Linked DNA regions of Homo sapiens: region 2 is linked to region 1. The links are contacts of gene promoters, found by promoter capture Hi-C in blood cells and fetal thymus (Javierre and others, 2016). All regions are on one chromosome and are shown on one strand. Each heading gives the region's core, a stretch centred on a gene start or on the middle of the fragment in contact. The rest is flanking DNA. Distances are from core to core; before and after follow the strand shown. Region 1 holds the start of POMGNT2 (protein O-linked mannose N-acetylglucosaminyltransferase 2 (beta 1,4-)). Region 2 holds the start of ABHD5 (abhydrolase domain containing 5, lysophosphatidic acid acyltransferase).

Region 1 (7,191 bases), core at 1,190-3,689:
GCGGGAAGACTCCCTGCTGCAAGACTGGAGGCTGCCCCAGGTCATAACTGGGCTTCAAGAATGCAAGAACAGCAAGGACGATGGGCAGCAGAGAAGGAGAATTACATGGCACCAGTTCTGGAGCTGGAGATGCCAGGATATGAATTCCCATCCCTGTCACTTAGCAGCTAAGTGACCTTAGGCCAATTCTTTACCTCTCCAAGCCTTCACTTCCTGGCTTGAAAAACACAATTATACCTACTTCACAGGGTAGTTTTGTGAATTCAAAGAGACAGCAAAGGCAAAACACCATGTCTGACAATTATTTTTCTAATATTATTATTAATCGTAATGGTAAAATAACTCCTGTTCACTGGCTTTCACTCTCAGCCAGGCACAGTGCTAACTGTTTTACACGCATTATCTCATTTATTCCCCACTACCTGAAGTAAATGCTATTAATTCAATTTCACATTTAAGAAGGTATGCTTAGAGGCATTAAGTGAATTGCCCAGTGATACACAGCAATTAAGTAGAGGGGTTAGGATTCAAAACCAAGACGGACTCCAAAGCCCGTGATGACATTTGCAGGTTCCACCTTTCACATTCATTATTTCATCCAATTTAAGAAACCCTGGGAATCACGTGATTGGTAGGTCCTGGGGGGAAAGTATCCCACTGACAACCAAGCTGAGATTGGCAAGGACCCTTGGAATGGGGGATTTGGTAATCTAATTTTCTAGTTAGTGCAATATTTACTAGAAGGCTTTGTTTATTGCTAAATATTTTCTAAAGCAAGGCTCAGAGCAAGAACTTGCCAACTAGCATGCTTACATGGCCACGGTGGGCCCAGCCACCAGCACCATGCCCTCCTTTCTGCTGAAGATCTCCACTCTCCTTCTCGTTCTCGCAGGGGCCCAAGGCTCAGGAAGGAACGTGCTGACCACCCCTGGGGATGAGGGGACCTATGCTCTTTCCTAGCTCTGCAGGGACTGAGATTCCTCAAAATTAATATTGAAAGGATGAGCTGGAAGATCTGCAAGATTCATGAGAGCCAGAGAGGGCAGCTAGTACCATTAAAGATGAACCTGGACTCCAAGCACCTCTAACACTTTCTGTCGTTAGTCACCACGACTGCTGATATTTGCCACACACTTACTGTTAGACATACTGGGCTGAGGACTTGCCTGGCACTATTTCATCCCCACTGCAACCCCGTGATAAAGGCACTGTACTTTCATCTCCACTTCACAGAGAAAGAAACAGAGGCTAAGAGAGGATAAGTGACTTGCTTAAACGCACACCGCTAGTAGCCGAGAACCAAGATTTGAAGGCGGGGCACATATTGTAGTAAACATTTGGTGAATGAAACCTCCTCTGTCTATGCTCTTAGCTACTAAGTCCTATCAAGCTCGCCCCATAACCCTGAAGTCATCCTTTTCCACGCGGAGCCTTGCTTCTCCCAAGAGTACGCTCTAAGTGTTGGCTGGCAATAAAGTAGGCAGACACTGGTCGCCCTGCACCTGGTGCAAGACTCTGGCCTGACGGTCACATACTTTAGCAGAGAGTTCCCATCAGTGAGCTGGAGACGGGTTCCTAAACACACACATGGAGTCAGGAGTTCACTGGGTTCCTTCTTCAGAGGCTACTCTGGCACTGCCAAGCAGGCCGTGGCAAGCTCTTACCACCGGACACACATGGTAGGTGCCCTACTGGCCCCCAAAGCGCCCAGGAATCAGCTGCAGGCCTGCCGGGGTTCTGCCTTCAAAGGCAGTTGGGGAGGCCCAGGCCCGCTCCGCGCACCTCGCGTGGCTCCCCACCACCCCCGCCAAATGTGCACCACCCATCACCTCCCAAAGCAAAAGGGCCTGAGGACCCGACGCCAGTGCCTGCCACGAGCTGAGGGCTCGAACTGGCAAGCCCCAGGGCGTTGCCCAGGTCCCCGGCCCCCGGCCCCCGACCCCCAATCCCCGGCCCCCGACCCTGAGGGTCCACCCCCGCCCCGCCCACCTCCCGCGCCTCCCTCAGCTCGCTTCACACGTCACCCCTCAGTTCTGCAAACTCTCCTGGATCCCGAAGGCGTCCTAGAACCTCCCCCTCACCCCGGGGCCCAGCACCGCGTCGTCCCCTCCAGGGGGCCGAGGGTTCGACACCTCCACTTCAAGTCCCAGGCGGGTGTCGGAGTCCGCTCCAGCCCCAAGCGCGCGCGCGTCTTACCTGAAGCCTGGACTCCGCGGGACGAAGCCACCTCCGCCGACGCGTCCAGGAGGCCCCACGGCGGCGCCGCTTTCCCACCCCGCCGCCGCCCCCAGCGCCAGCTTCTGGCCCAGGAGGCCCAGAAGGCCCAGGCAGCCAGCACAGGTTTGGCCGCGCCGCCGGGTTCGCAGCGACCGCCACCTCCAGGCTCGCAGGTGTCCGCCGTGCGCCTGCCCGGCGGGCGAGCCCGGCGCGGAGCCTGTGCGCCTGCGCAGAGCCGCGAGTTCGGTTGCCCTGGCCCCGGCCACAACCTTGGCTCGCGGAATCCTGGGAGGTGTAGTTTTGCGTACGAGGACAGCCCGCGCCGCCACCAGCCTGCGGAATGTTGGGAGTGATAATTTGCGCCGAGAGGCTGAGTTTTACTTAGTGTTAGGATTACACAGTTATGGCAGTTCTGATAATAAATTTAAATGCAAGTTTAACCAACAACCAAATGTCATTGTAAAGTCAAGGTAATTAATACGTTTACATGCTTTTAAAAATTGTAATGCTACAGAGAACTTACAAAAGCACCAGTCCTCTGCGGCACCATTCCATTAACCAGCTGTCACCTTATCCCACCGTCCAGTCCTGGCTGTCCAGTCCTCAAGGGCAGCTACTTATGGCTGTGGCATCTGGCATTCCCGCGGATTCTCCGAATATACATATGCCCCTATTTCTTGAGTTATGAATTTTAGATCTTTTGACTTCTTTTTTAGATCTCTTGACTTTTTTTGAACTTAAGTCATCTAGAGATGCACCTACCACCACCAACTCCACCTCCATAGAGTTATAAGATTTCTACCTATCAAATTGGGAAAGCCCTGACTTTAATTTATGATTATTTTAAATTAGCCCAAATGTTAAGGTATTAAGTTGGTAAATTTTTGCAGGGCAATTTGTCAATACAGCCAAAAACCTTTAAAAACATGTAGTCAAAAGCCTCTAACCAAGAAATTCTAATAATTGTGGATGACTGCAAAGGCTGAATAGTGTTGTTTAGATGATAATAAACTGAAAGGCTGAAGTGGTGATATTACTTTCAGAGAGAGTAGAATTGACAGCAAGGAAAATTACCAAGAATAAAAAAGGGATAATTATATAATGATAAAAGGTTCAATTCACCAAGAAGACATAATTCTAAATGTGGATACACCTAACGACATAGCCTTAACATAAATAAATCAAATGATAGAACCATAATTAGAAATAGACAACTCTGCAACTGTAATTGGAAACTTCAGCATCCCTCTCTCAACAACTGATAGAACACTAGACAGAAAGTCAGCAAGGATATAGAAAAGATCAACACTAATACCATCCTAATCTAATTGATATTTACATAATACTTCACCCACCAACAGAATACACATTCTTTTCAAGCAACCTTGGTATATATATTAAGATAAACTGTATCCTGGATCATAAGTTTTTAAATATACAGAAGACATTAATATATATTTTACCAAAGTAGTTATACAGATGGCAAATAAGGACAGATGTTCATCACTAGCCATAAAGGAAATGCAAATTAAGACTATGCTGAGATATCACCATACACCTATTTAAAACAGCTTAAAAAGGCAGGGCGCGGTGGCTCATGCCTGTAATGCCAGCACTTTGGGAGGCCATGGCTGGCGAATCACGAGGTCAGGAGTTCAAGACCAGCCTGGCCAACATGGTGAAACCTCGTCTCTACTAAAAATACAAAAATTAGCTGGATGTGTTGGTGCGCGTCTGTAAACCCGGCTACTCAGGAGGCTGAGGCAGGGGAGAATCACTTGAACCCAGGAGGCGGAGGTTGCAGTGAACCGAGATCGCGCCACTGCACTCCAGTCTGGGCTACAGAGCAAGACTCCATCTCAAAAACAAACAAACAACAACAACAACTACAAAACAGCTTAAAAAATAAAATAGCAAATGCTGGTGAGTATGCACAGAACTGGATCTCTCATATATTACTCACAGATGGGTATATCATGGTAGTTTCTTTTAAAAAACTAAACATATGCTTCCCATATGACTCATCAATCACACTCCTGAGCATCTATTCCAGAGAAATGGAAACTTATGTTAACACACAAACTTGTACACAATTGTTCCTACTTTCTTTATTTGTAATTGTCAAAAACTGTCAACAAACAAAATGCCCCTCGATAGGTGAATGGTTAAATAAACTGTGATTACATCTATATAAAGAATATCATTCAACAATAGAAAGGCACAATTGACACATGCCACAACTTGGGCATTATGCTGGGTGAAAAAAAGTCAGTCTCAAAAGGTTACATACTCTGGTTGCCATTTGTATAACATTCTTGAAATGACAAAACTATAGAGATGGAGAAAATATTAGTGGTTGTCAGAGGTTGAAGACAGGGTGTAGGTGTGAATATATAAGGGTAACAGAAGGGAAGCCTTTGTACTGATGAAATAGTTCTTTGTCTTGATTGTGGTAGTGGTTACACAAATCTACACATGTGATAAAATGACTAAAACTACACACAAACTTTCTATCAAGGTTAAATTCCTGATTTTTATATTGTATTATAATTACGTACAATGTAACCATTGGGGGAAACTGGATGAAGAGATTCCTCTCTGTACTATCTTATTATAGATTTTCACAAATCTATAATTATTTCAAGATAAAAAGTAGGAAAAAAAACAAATTTGGAAACTGCTTAATTCCTCAGTCATGCAGGATTAAGTAAAATCACAGATCATCTCAGAAATCATTGAAAAGATGCTGCAAAATAGTATTTACTTAATAGAGTGGAAGACATTTCACATTATATCATATTTAATGAAAAAAGTATAAAATATTCCATAAGATCCCATTTTTAAAAAGAATATATTTGTGCACAGTAACAGCACAGAGCACAGAAGGATATCAGCAAAATTTCAATGAGCCATGACCCAGGGTGGTAAGACTATGGGTGTTTTTTTATTGTCATCTTGCTGGTTACCTGTATGAATTTATTCTGAAGTGAACATATATTGTTTTGTTATTTTAAATATAAGTTGTTTAAAAAACTTCTAAGTTTTAAAAAGCTCCTATGTTGAGTTTATGGGTCTCTATAAGATAGCCAGTCATAGTCACTGATAGAAAGAGGCACCTAACAGTCCAAGAGAGCAGCCCCTTGCTGGAGGTGGACAGGGATTGGGTTCTGGCCAAAGCTGAATCTCCTGGATAGGATCTAACAGGATGGCCTGTAAGTCACCTAGGACCCAGTTTGCAGACACTGATCATCTTTGAGTCCATCATGTTTTGAAAACTATTCTGGCTGTGGAGCATTGCTGGTAGGAAGCTTTAGTAGACTGGAAAAAACTAGTACATTTCTTTTTATTAAATATCCAAGGTGGCTTAGGTAGCTGGCTTTTTGAGGTCTTTCCCAGCATTTTAAATCCATATTCATGCATGCCAAGCTGAGTTAGGCATTCCTCAAGTCCAAGCCCTCTCCCTTTGTCTGGGGTCATATTCCCTTTCTATTTCTCTGTGTGGATGCCTTCCAAACCCACATCTCTAGCCCTGAATTCCAGATCCACATTCCCAATCCAAGTTGCTTGGGGCATACACACCTCCACCTGGCTGGCCTGCTAGGATCTTAAAATCTGCATGATGAACATGGTGGTGATGGTAAAGATTGGGATGGTTTTTAAATATGTCTGCAAATTATTTGACTATTTTTCCTTTGAAAGGGGGAGTCTAGTTCCCTTCCCTCAAATATGGGCATAACTTAGTAACTCACTTCAATGAACAGAAAATGTCAGAAGTGATGCTATGTGACTTCTGAAACTGGGTCATAAAAGTGGTACATCCTCTCTCTGTCTCTCTCTGGTTGCCTTGGGAACAGATTCACCATGTTGTGAGGAAGCTCAGGTTACATGGATAGGACCTGCATGAGTGTATTAATGTGTTAGAGCTGCCATACCAAAATTTCAGACTGGGCAGCTTAAAAAACAGAGATTTACTTCTCACCGTTCTGGAGGTTGGAAGTCCAAGATCGAGGTGTCAGCAGGGTTGGTGTCTTCTGAGGCCTCTCTCCATAGCTTGAGGATGGCCGCCTTCTTACTGAGCCCCCACATGCCTTTTCCCTATGGATGCCCATCCTTGGTGTCTCTTGTGTGTCCCAATCTCCTCTTCTTATGAGTATACCAGTCAGATTGGATTATGGCCTAACCCAAAAATGAGCCTAATCACCTCATTTTAACCCAATTACCTCTCAAAGGCCATATCTCCAAGTACAGTCATGTTCTGACGTATTGAAGGTTTGGGCTTCCGCATATGAATTCGAGGGCAGGGGGATACCATTCAGTCCATAACAATGGGTATACCAGCCAGCAGCCCCAGCTAGGCTTTCAACTGACAACCAATATATATTGCCAGATATATGAGCGAATGAGCCCTCAGATGACTCCAGCCCTGATATGGTTTGGCTCTGTGTCCCCGCCTAAATCTCAGGGTGAATTGCAGTCCCCAATGTTGTGAGAAGGACCAGGTTGGAGGTAATTGGATCATGGGGGCAGATTTCCCCCTTGCTGTTCTCATGATAGTGAGTGAGATCTCACGAGACCTGATGGTTTAAAAGTGTGTGGCACTTCCTGCTTTGCAAGCTCTCTCTCCTGTCACCATGTGAATATGTGCTTGCTCCCCCTTCACTTTCCATTATGATTGTAAGTTTCCTGAGGCCTCCCCAGCCGTGCTTCCTGTACGGCCTGCAGAACTGTGAGTCAATTAGGCCTCTTTTCTTCATACATTACCCAGTCTCAGGTAGTTCTTTATAGAGGTGCAAGAACAGACTAATACAAGCCCATAGCTTTCAAGCCACCTTAGCTGATACCCTGAACATCACAGCAAAGTTAATCTGTCCCTGTTGTGCTTTATCTAAATTTTTGACCCACAGAAACCACAATAAATAATCAATGATTTTAGTTATTTTTGAGCCACTAGGTTTTCAAATCTGATTATGTAAC
Region 2 (7,191 bases), core at 3,503-6,002, 590 kb after region 1:
GGCCGCCCAAAGTGCTGGGATTACAGGCCTGAGCCACCGCGCCCGGCCAACACCGACTCTTTTCACCCTCCCAGGTATCTAGAGAGTCGAGTGGGAGGGAAATTGCTGGCTCTGGCCACTACAGTAACATCAGCACCTAGAGCAGTGCTCAACTGACTGAAGGCTCCTGTGAGTCGCCCTCTCCCCCTGGCCCCCCAACCCGCGGGGAAAGGCTGGCGGGACGCCACACAGCACCTCGATTACGCCATTTCATTTGCCACTGCACCATCTATCGGACACTAGCTAGGCTCTTCCAGGACCGGACGCACCTCCGTCCCCAAGGTGCCACCTGACAGCCAACACCGACGGGGTGATGCATGAATACAGTCATTATTCAAATTAGCTAAAACACCTAACTCATTCGGGTGAGTCTCGCCAGTCCCTCTGGGCTGACTGTCCCGCCCCGCGCTTACACCCGGGAGCGTCGGGCGGGAGAACTAGTGCATGCTGGCTGGGGATGGCGGACGCAAAGCCGGAGGCAAGGCCGCGCACGCGCAAACGCGGGCGCGCCGCCGGGCCGTGCTAGTGCGCGGAAGACGCATGCGCTGGCGGCCTGCGCCGCCTTAAGTGCCGCGCCAGCCCGGGGCGGCCCAGTCGGCCTGTCAGCCGGCTTCGAGATAAGTCCCGGCGCTTGCGCGGCGGCGGCTATGGCGGCGGAGGAGGAGGAGGTGGACTCTGCCGACACCGGAGAGAGGTAAGCGCAGCCGGCAGGGGGCTTCGTGTGTCTCCGGCGCGCACCCTCCGCGCGGGCCGGGTTAGGGCCCAGCGGGCAGCACCAAGGAGTCGCCGCCCGCCTGGCGACGACGGGCGGCTTCCTCGACCCTCCCCGGCATGAGTCCGCGCGGCGCCCAGAGGCGTCCCGGCGCCGCTCTGCCTGGGAGAGGCTCCCCTCAGCGTCGGGGCCCCGAGGTGTCTGAGCCGGACTCCGGCCGCGCCGGGAGGCCGCCTTGACCCCGCGCGGAGGGTCCGCCCCGTTGTTGTATAAGCCACCCCGCGGGCCGGCGACGGAGCTGGCCGCGGCGGCCGCACCGGCTCGGGCTCTGCCAAGGGACCCGGCCTGCCCCAATGCCGCCGGCGGGCGGTGCCCGGTCGACCCTGCACCTGACTGCGAGGCGCGGGAAATGACCGGGTCTGTCAGCCTCCCATCGCGGCTTCCGTCTACAGGTACTACCTGTGCTCTGTCCAGCCTCAGCCACTGGACGATCCTTCCCGTAGCCGTAGGAAGGGGCGGCGCTTCCTTGGAGGGGATATTAGAGGCCCGAATTCGCCCGGGAAGCGGCGGGAGGGCGGGGGTGCCGGGAAGGAGGGAGGGGAGAAGGAGTGAGGGAAGTGGGTGTATGGCTGTGAGTTTCAGATACTTCATAGAAAGAAAGTTAGCCCTTAAGATAGAGATACACGTTCAAATGTCATAATTCATCTTTCGGATGAAGGTCTTTGGCTTGCAAGCTCCACTGTCCCTTATTTGTTTGCGCTTCTGGGATTATTCTGGCTTTACTGGCGAAGTGTGTGTTGCATGTGCCTTAGAAGAACACACATAATGTATAGGAAACTGTGGAAGTTGGAGGGCAGATGTCTAATGTGAAACTTTTTTATATACAGGTATAGTGAGTTTATTCTTTTCTACACCTAAATGACTTCTTGCACTTGTTAGTAGAAGAATAGTAGTTAATGAGTGGAATAATTAAATTGTTATGGAGGTTATTGCCTTGTTTCTCAAGGCCTGTCGTTTGTATTGGAAAGTAAACTTCCCCCATATATATTTAATTTTTTGACGTCGGTTCTACTTCAGACGTCTGGAGAAATTTGCCTAGGAAACATAACCTAAATGATAGAATATGGAGTACCATGAAGACAGGGATATTTGGAAAGATGTCATGGGGAAAAATTGTGAAATATTAGAAAGGAAGTTATTCTCTTGAGTTTTGTTTATTTGTTGAGGTTTGTTGATGAACTTCCTCGTTGCACTGAGGTGAAATGTTGAATGTCATGTGGACGCAAGTAGGAACGTAATTGGTAGGTTGTGTTCTCATCTTGTTTGTCACAACATTTTTGACTCTTGACACTACTTTCAGGTGGACTATTTGGTTTTGATGTAGTGGGGCCTTGGAGTCCAGGACACAATCGTGAAAGGGTTTTATGGCTTGGAGTGATGGTTGGAGGTCATTGGAGGTAGATGATTAAAAAATCCTTAGCAGCTGATCAGCCATAGTTTCTAGACAGAAGTGGGCTTCGCTGGTATTCTTGGCAATATGCTTTAGCAGTGTCCAGTGACTATCCCCAGAAGTGATCCTGTTAAATCCAAGGTTGCCCCTGTGTGCTGGGTATTATTGTTCCCATTTTGCAGTTGAAACTGCCACTGTAAAGGCTGCTAACAGCCTGCCAGCAAGTAGCAGGGCTGGATTGGAACCCTTTGTGGAACCCTTTGAGGTGTCTGGATTTAATCTAAGGTGCTTACCCTGTATCCCTGCTGCCTGTCACTGGAATTGGGACTCATGTGGGATGTTTGGCTCTTGTTTGAATACAGTTCCCTACCCTTAAGACATTTGAGGTTTAGATAGGGAGATAACATTAACAAAGGAAAGTTATAAAATGGTCATCTGATGGCTTTTTGGAGAATATGATTCTTGTCCTTTGCTTTGTGGCACTTAGTGAAGACAGGCATACTGGGATCCATTTTGCTTTCAACATCCAACCCCTTTCAGTTGCAATACAGTTGAGAAAGCTAAATGTAATGAGAGTAGAGTAGACTTCTGTGAATTGCTTTAAGTTGTCCTAGAGAATGATTTAGTGTCAATTGAGTTGAGAGAAAGCTGTCACAGAATTGCTCAGTTGCAGGGTAGACCATAAAAGAGGTGATTTGCAGTTGTGTGCTGGAGTTGATTTGTACCAGCAAGCCATTGCTAAATTTTCAGGAATTTTGCCAACGGTTGGCAGCTTGAAATTGGCCATGGTGGGAGTATTTACACCACGGAAATCATCAAATGCTATAAATAAGGTATAAATAAGGGATTTTTCTCTCCCCTCCCTGCTTCAGTTTGTTTGCCAGCTCCCCACTGGGTTTACATTAGACTGTGAATGTAGGTCTTTGCCTTGGAGATAGGAGAGTGGATTTCTCTATCTAATCTTTTTAAAAACTGGCAAGATATGTGCCTTTCTCTCTGCTGCCTTCTCTCCTTCCCAAACCTTTGCCACCTGATATCTTAAAAATCACAAAACTTTTCACTGCCACATCCCAATGGCCTTCTAGTTTTTTTCAGTACTTCTTCTTGGGTCCTTTTTGGTGTTTGTTACTGTAATGATAGCTACTACTTTTTGAAACTCTTATTAGACATTCTAGGTCTTAATGACATTTTGCCTTTTATCTTACCTTACCTGACCAACAATAACTTTTATTAGTTTCTCCTCTTTTTTTTTTTTTTGCATTCTCTAAATGTAGTCATTTTCCAAGATTCTGTCATCATCCTTGTTTTTATTTTTCATCTTGTTTACTCAAACGTGAACTGTCTTGTCTGTGGAGATGACTCAGATCTCATTTTCTTTCTGGAGCCCTCTTCTGTACTCTGGTAATGTTTCTAATTGTCAGATGTTTGTGCCTGATTCCTCAAATTTAACATGTCCAGACCATGATCTTATTTTTACCTTCCTGCTCCTAAACTAAACGATATAAAAAGCTTAGTTCTGGCCGGGCGCCGTGGTTCACGCCTGTAATCCTAGCACTTTGGGGTAACACCGTGAAACCCCGTCTGTATTAAAAATACAAAAAAATTAGCCGGGCAAGGTGGCGGCGCCTGTAGTCCCAGCTACTCGGGAGGCTGAGGCAGGAGAATGGCGTGAACCCAGGAGGCGGAGCTTGCAGTGAGCCGAGATCGTGCCACTGCACTCCAGCCTGGGCGACAGAGCAAGACTCCGTCTCAAAAAAAAAAAAAAAAAAAAAGCTCAGTTCTTCCTCTTGAAACATTATATTGGCTTAATCATTGCCTTGACTAATTGTTAGATTATTAGTTTAATCTCATGGTTCTGTAATTCCCACTCCTGATTGTGAGTTACTAAAAAAAATCATATGGAGAGGTGATTTTATTAAAACTGATTATTCAGTTGAGACCTAGGATTTTTAGTTTTATTCTCTTTATTATCTAGTGAATGAACTTATTTTAGAACTGATGCAAAGAAATGTCACTGACTTGTTAAGTAGAGTACACCTGTGGCTTCTTCAAGTGTGTTTGATAATGAGGTCATATAAGTGACTCTAAAATGGTTTGTTTACTGTGTGAAGGAAGGTAGGAAACAATGGGGAGATACGTGTTACCAGCACATGGCTTGTCTAAAACACTTATACTACCAATCTGAGTCTTTAAAAGTTACAGGTTGGGGGGGGAGGGGCAGTTAAAACAGTATTAATTAATGTGTTAACATATATTAGAGGGCCTGGATTGTCATTGATCTAATAGTGATAATTTGAATCACTTAAGTATCATTTATCCAAAATAAAATGGCATGTTAGTCACTTAAATTGTAGCTGTATGAGACCATATTCTTTTTTTTTTGTTTGTTTTCCAGAGACAGGTTCTTGCTCTGTCACCCAGGCTGGAGTGCAGTGGCACAATCATGGCTCACTGCAGCCTCAACCTCCTGGGCTCAAGCAATCCTGCCACCTCAGCAACTTGCCCCCCAGCCCCTGTATTCCACCCCCCCAAGGTTGCTGGGACTATAGGCATGTGCCAGGCGGCTGGGACTACAGGCATGTGCCAGGCAGCTGGTCTTGACCTCCTGACTGAGCTCAAGCAATCCTCCCACCTCAGCCTCCCAAAGTACGCTTTTTTCTTTTCTTTTTCTCTTTCCCAAGAATAGGATTTAAAAAGTCAATTCCCAAGAAAGGTCTTTATTTACCCAAGTGTTATAATTTCCAATTTGGATGTTTTTAGTCATTGGTTGAGGAAGTATCTCAGATAAATATAAATGTAAATATAAATAAATGTATATATTCATACCTGTAATTCATTTGGATATTTATAATAAAAATCAAAGCCTCATGGTTTCTTTAAATGAGATAGAGAGCTGTGCTTAGGTTTATCAAGAGCAATAAGTTTATGTGATTTTTCTCTCTCAACTACTAGAATAGGAATGGAGGCCATTTTAAACAAAATTTTAATATAATGAAATCCTCTTTACTTATAACCTAATTAGAAATATTAAGTGGCCAAGAGTGTATGGAAACTGGCCAGATTTCTGCATATTTTCTTCAGAATACTTCGAAACCTCTTTCACTGTTTCATAATGTTTATAGATTGTGCAATTCAGGTTTAGTAATACTGTAGATAGACAGATGTGTTAAAGAACAAAACAGAGATTACCAGGAAACTTAAGTGTTGATAGTATGGAGTATAAGTATGACATAATATTTTTTTAGAAGGATTACGTAAAAAGTTAATGGAAAAAGTGGTGTCTATCTCTCACTCAGGATACTTAAAGTCAGATTCTTAGGTAAAATATACTCTATTAATATGTTAAGCACATCTTACTTGGCTTTCCTTAGAATTGTCACCTCTGATGTGATCTTTTATAACTTTTCTTACTCAAAAGTCTGCTCACTAAAAAGATTCTTAGTTTGCACTACAATGGTTGTAAAACAAGAATCCTTTCTTTTTTTGTTTTTGTTTCTGTGATTAGATGCTTTAGGGCTTATATCCTTTGCCTTGCTAATAAGGTAAGTGCCCAACTGATGGGGCTGTGTAGAAAACTTTTTGGCTTGCATTGGTAAGCTTTCCCCATGTCATAGATGCTTACTATTAGAAAGCTATAGTTCCTGTGGTGAATGACTTCTCTTTGTATTACAGTTGACACTTTGGTCACTGTTGAATTTAGGCCTCAGTGATGGATGATAGTGTTTATTGCTTGTCTCCTTAAATAAAATAGAGAAGTTAGGTTTTGCTTTTCTATTTATTTTCCAAAGCTATGAGGAAGAGGCATTGAATCTAGTTTACTGTTTTATAGGTGGGCTGTGTGAATTTAATTTTTGCCTTGAATTTTGTGACCTCAGAAGAATGGCAGAATATCTGACAAGCTTCAGTCCTGTGTCCTTAGTTCCAGTCTTCTATATACTAAACCTAGGAATGCTGAGCAACACTGAATGGCATAGGATACCACTGGGGAGGGGGCAAAGGGTCTCTTTGAAGGTGAGATTAATTTATCCCGAAGACAGGAGGTAGAGTTGGATGGGTAAGTTTTAAAGGGTTGAAGCAATAGAGGTTGCAAGGTAAGGTATGAGACCTTTGAACAAACAGGAATCAACTAAAGGGTGGAAAAGATAAGGCCCTTGCTTTTTACTCATTGGAAATGTTCCTTGAAGCCTATTATGTATATAACACTTAATCCTGTAGAGTGTCTCAAAGAAGCAGAGGATAGTTTCTGTAAAACATTTAATCATCTGGTTAAAGTGAAACTGGACAGAAGCATTATCAGGGCTTAGGGGAAGAGTGCTATCTTTACAATTCCATTAAGAGTAAAAATATCTTGCTATGTTTTGTTAAATATATATTTTTCTGTTAGAAAAAAACCCACTTTAAAAAATCACCTGTTTTGATGAAAATGCTTCTGTGAAAACCTGAAGAGAGTTGGTGCCTCTTCTTATGGTTGAAGATCCCTACTTTTTAATGTAAGCTTACAAACATGAAAACATGTTTTGCCCCTTCTCTGAGTTGAGCTGGTCACTAGAAGGCAAATCCATGGACAGACAGTCCCATTGTTTGAAAGCTGGTTTTGTGGTAAGTGGTAAGTTGGTGGAGGTAGGCATGATTCTTCCATTACAGGCTGGTATGTAACTTTTTAAACACTGGTGCTTTGTACATAGTAGGTATTCAGTGTCTGAATTATTTTTTGAGTGTCGTTTTTTAAAAAAGTATCCTTTTTTAATGCAAAGAATGCATTTGTGTTTTCTTTGCCCCAGTTTGTCTGTGATATCAACTGGAGCAATAGTAGCTTATACTTCATTTCACTGTAATTTTTTTTAATTGACCTCTGATTCTCTCTGGCAAATAATTGTGATATGGTTCGAGGGATGTTTGTTTAAGACAATGGATGAGATTGAGTTGTAAGTAATTTCTTGTTGGTACTAGTTCATATTTTTATGGTTAAATATAGACCTAATGGCTGGTC

The links. Contacts are between HindIII fragments. The CHiCAGO score rates a contact against its expected background, and 5 or more counts as called.
Region 2: a fragment that was not itself captured here is called in contact with the fragment with the promoter of POMGNT2 in region 1 in 1 of 17 cell types (fetal thymus); the score reaches 5.1 in fetal thymus.

The regions. Positions count from the first base shown.
Region 1 is chr3:43,103,640-43,110,830 of GRCh38, forward strand. It overlaps POMGNT2 (protein O-linked mannose N-acetylglucosaminyltransferase 2 (beta 1,4-)), which reads right to left and starts at 2,440. Exons shown (of 2, transcript NM_032806.6): 1 at 2,197-2,440. RefSeq lists a silencer at 2,208-2,527. The HindIII fragment of the contact is 5,763 bases long and covers 1-5,523 here.
Region 2 is chr3:43,690,307-43,697,497 of GRCh38, forward strand. ABHD5 (abhydrolase domain containing 5, lysophosphatidic acid acyltransferase) reads left to right here and starts at 632. Exons shown (of 7, transcript NM_016006.6): 1 at 632-733. The coding sequence starts at 687. It also overlaps a transcript of ANO10 not described here. RefSeq lists a silencer at 804-1,283. The HindIII fragment of the contact is 2,088 bases long and covers 3,709-5,796 here.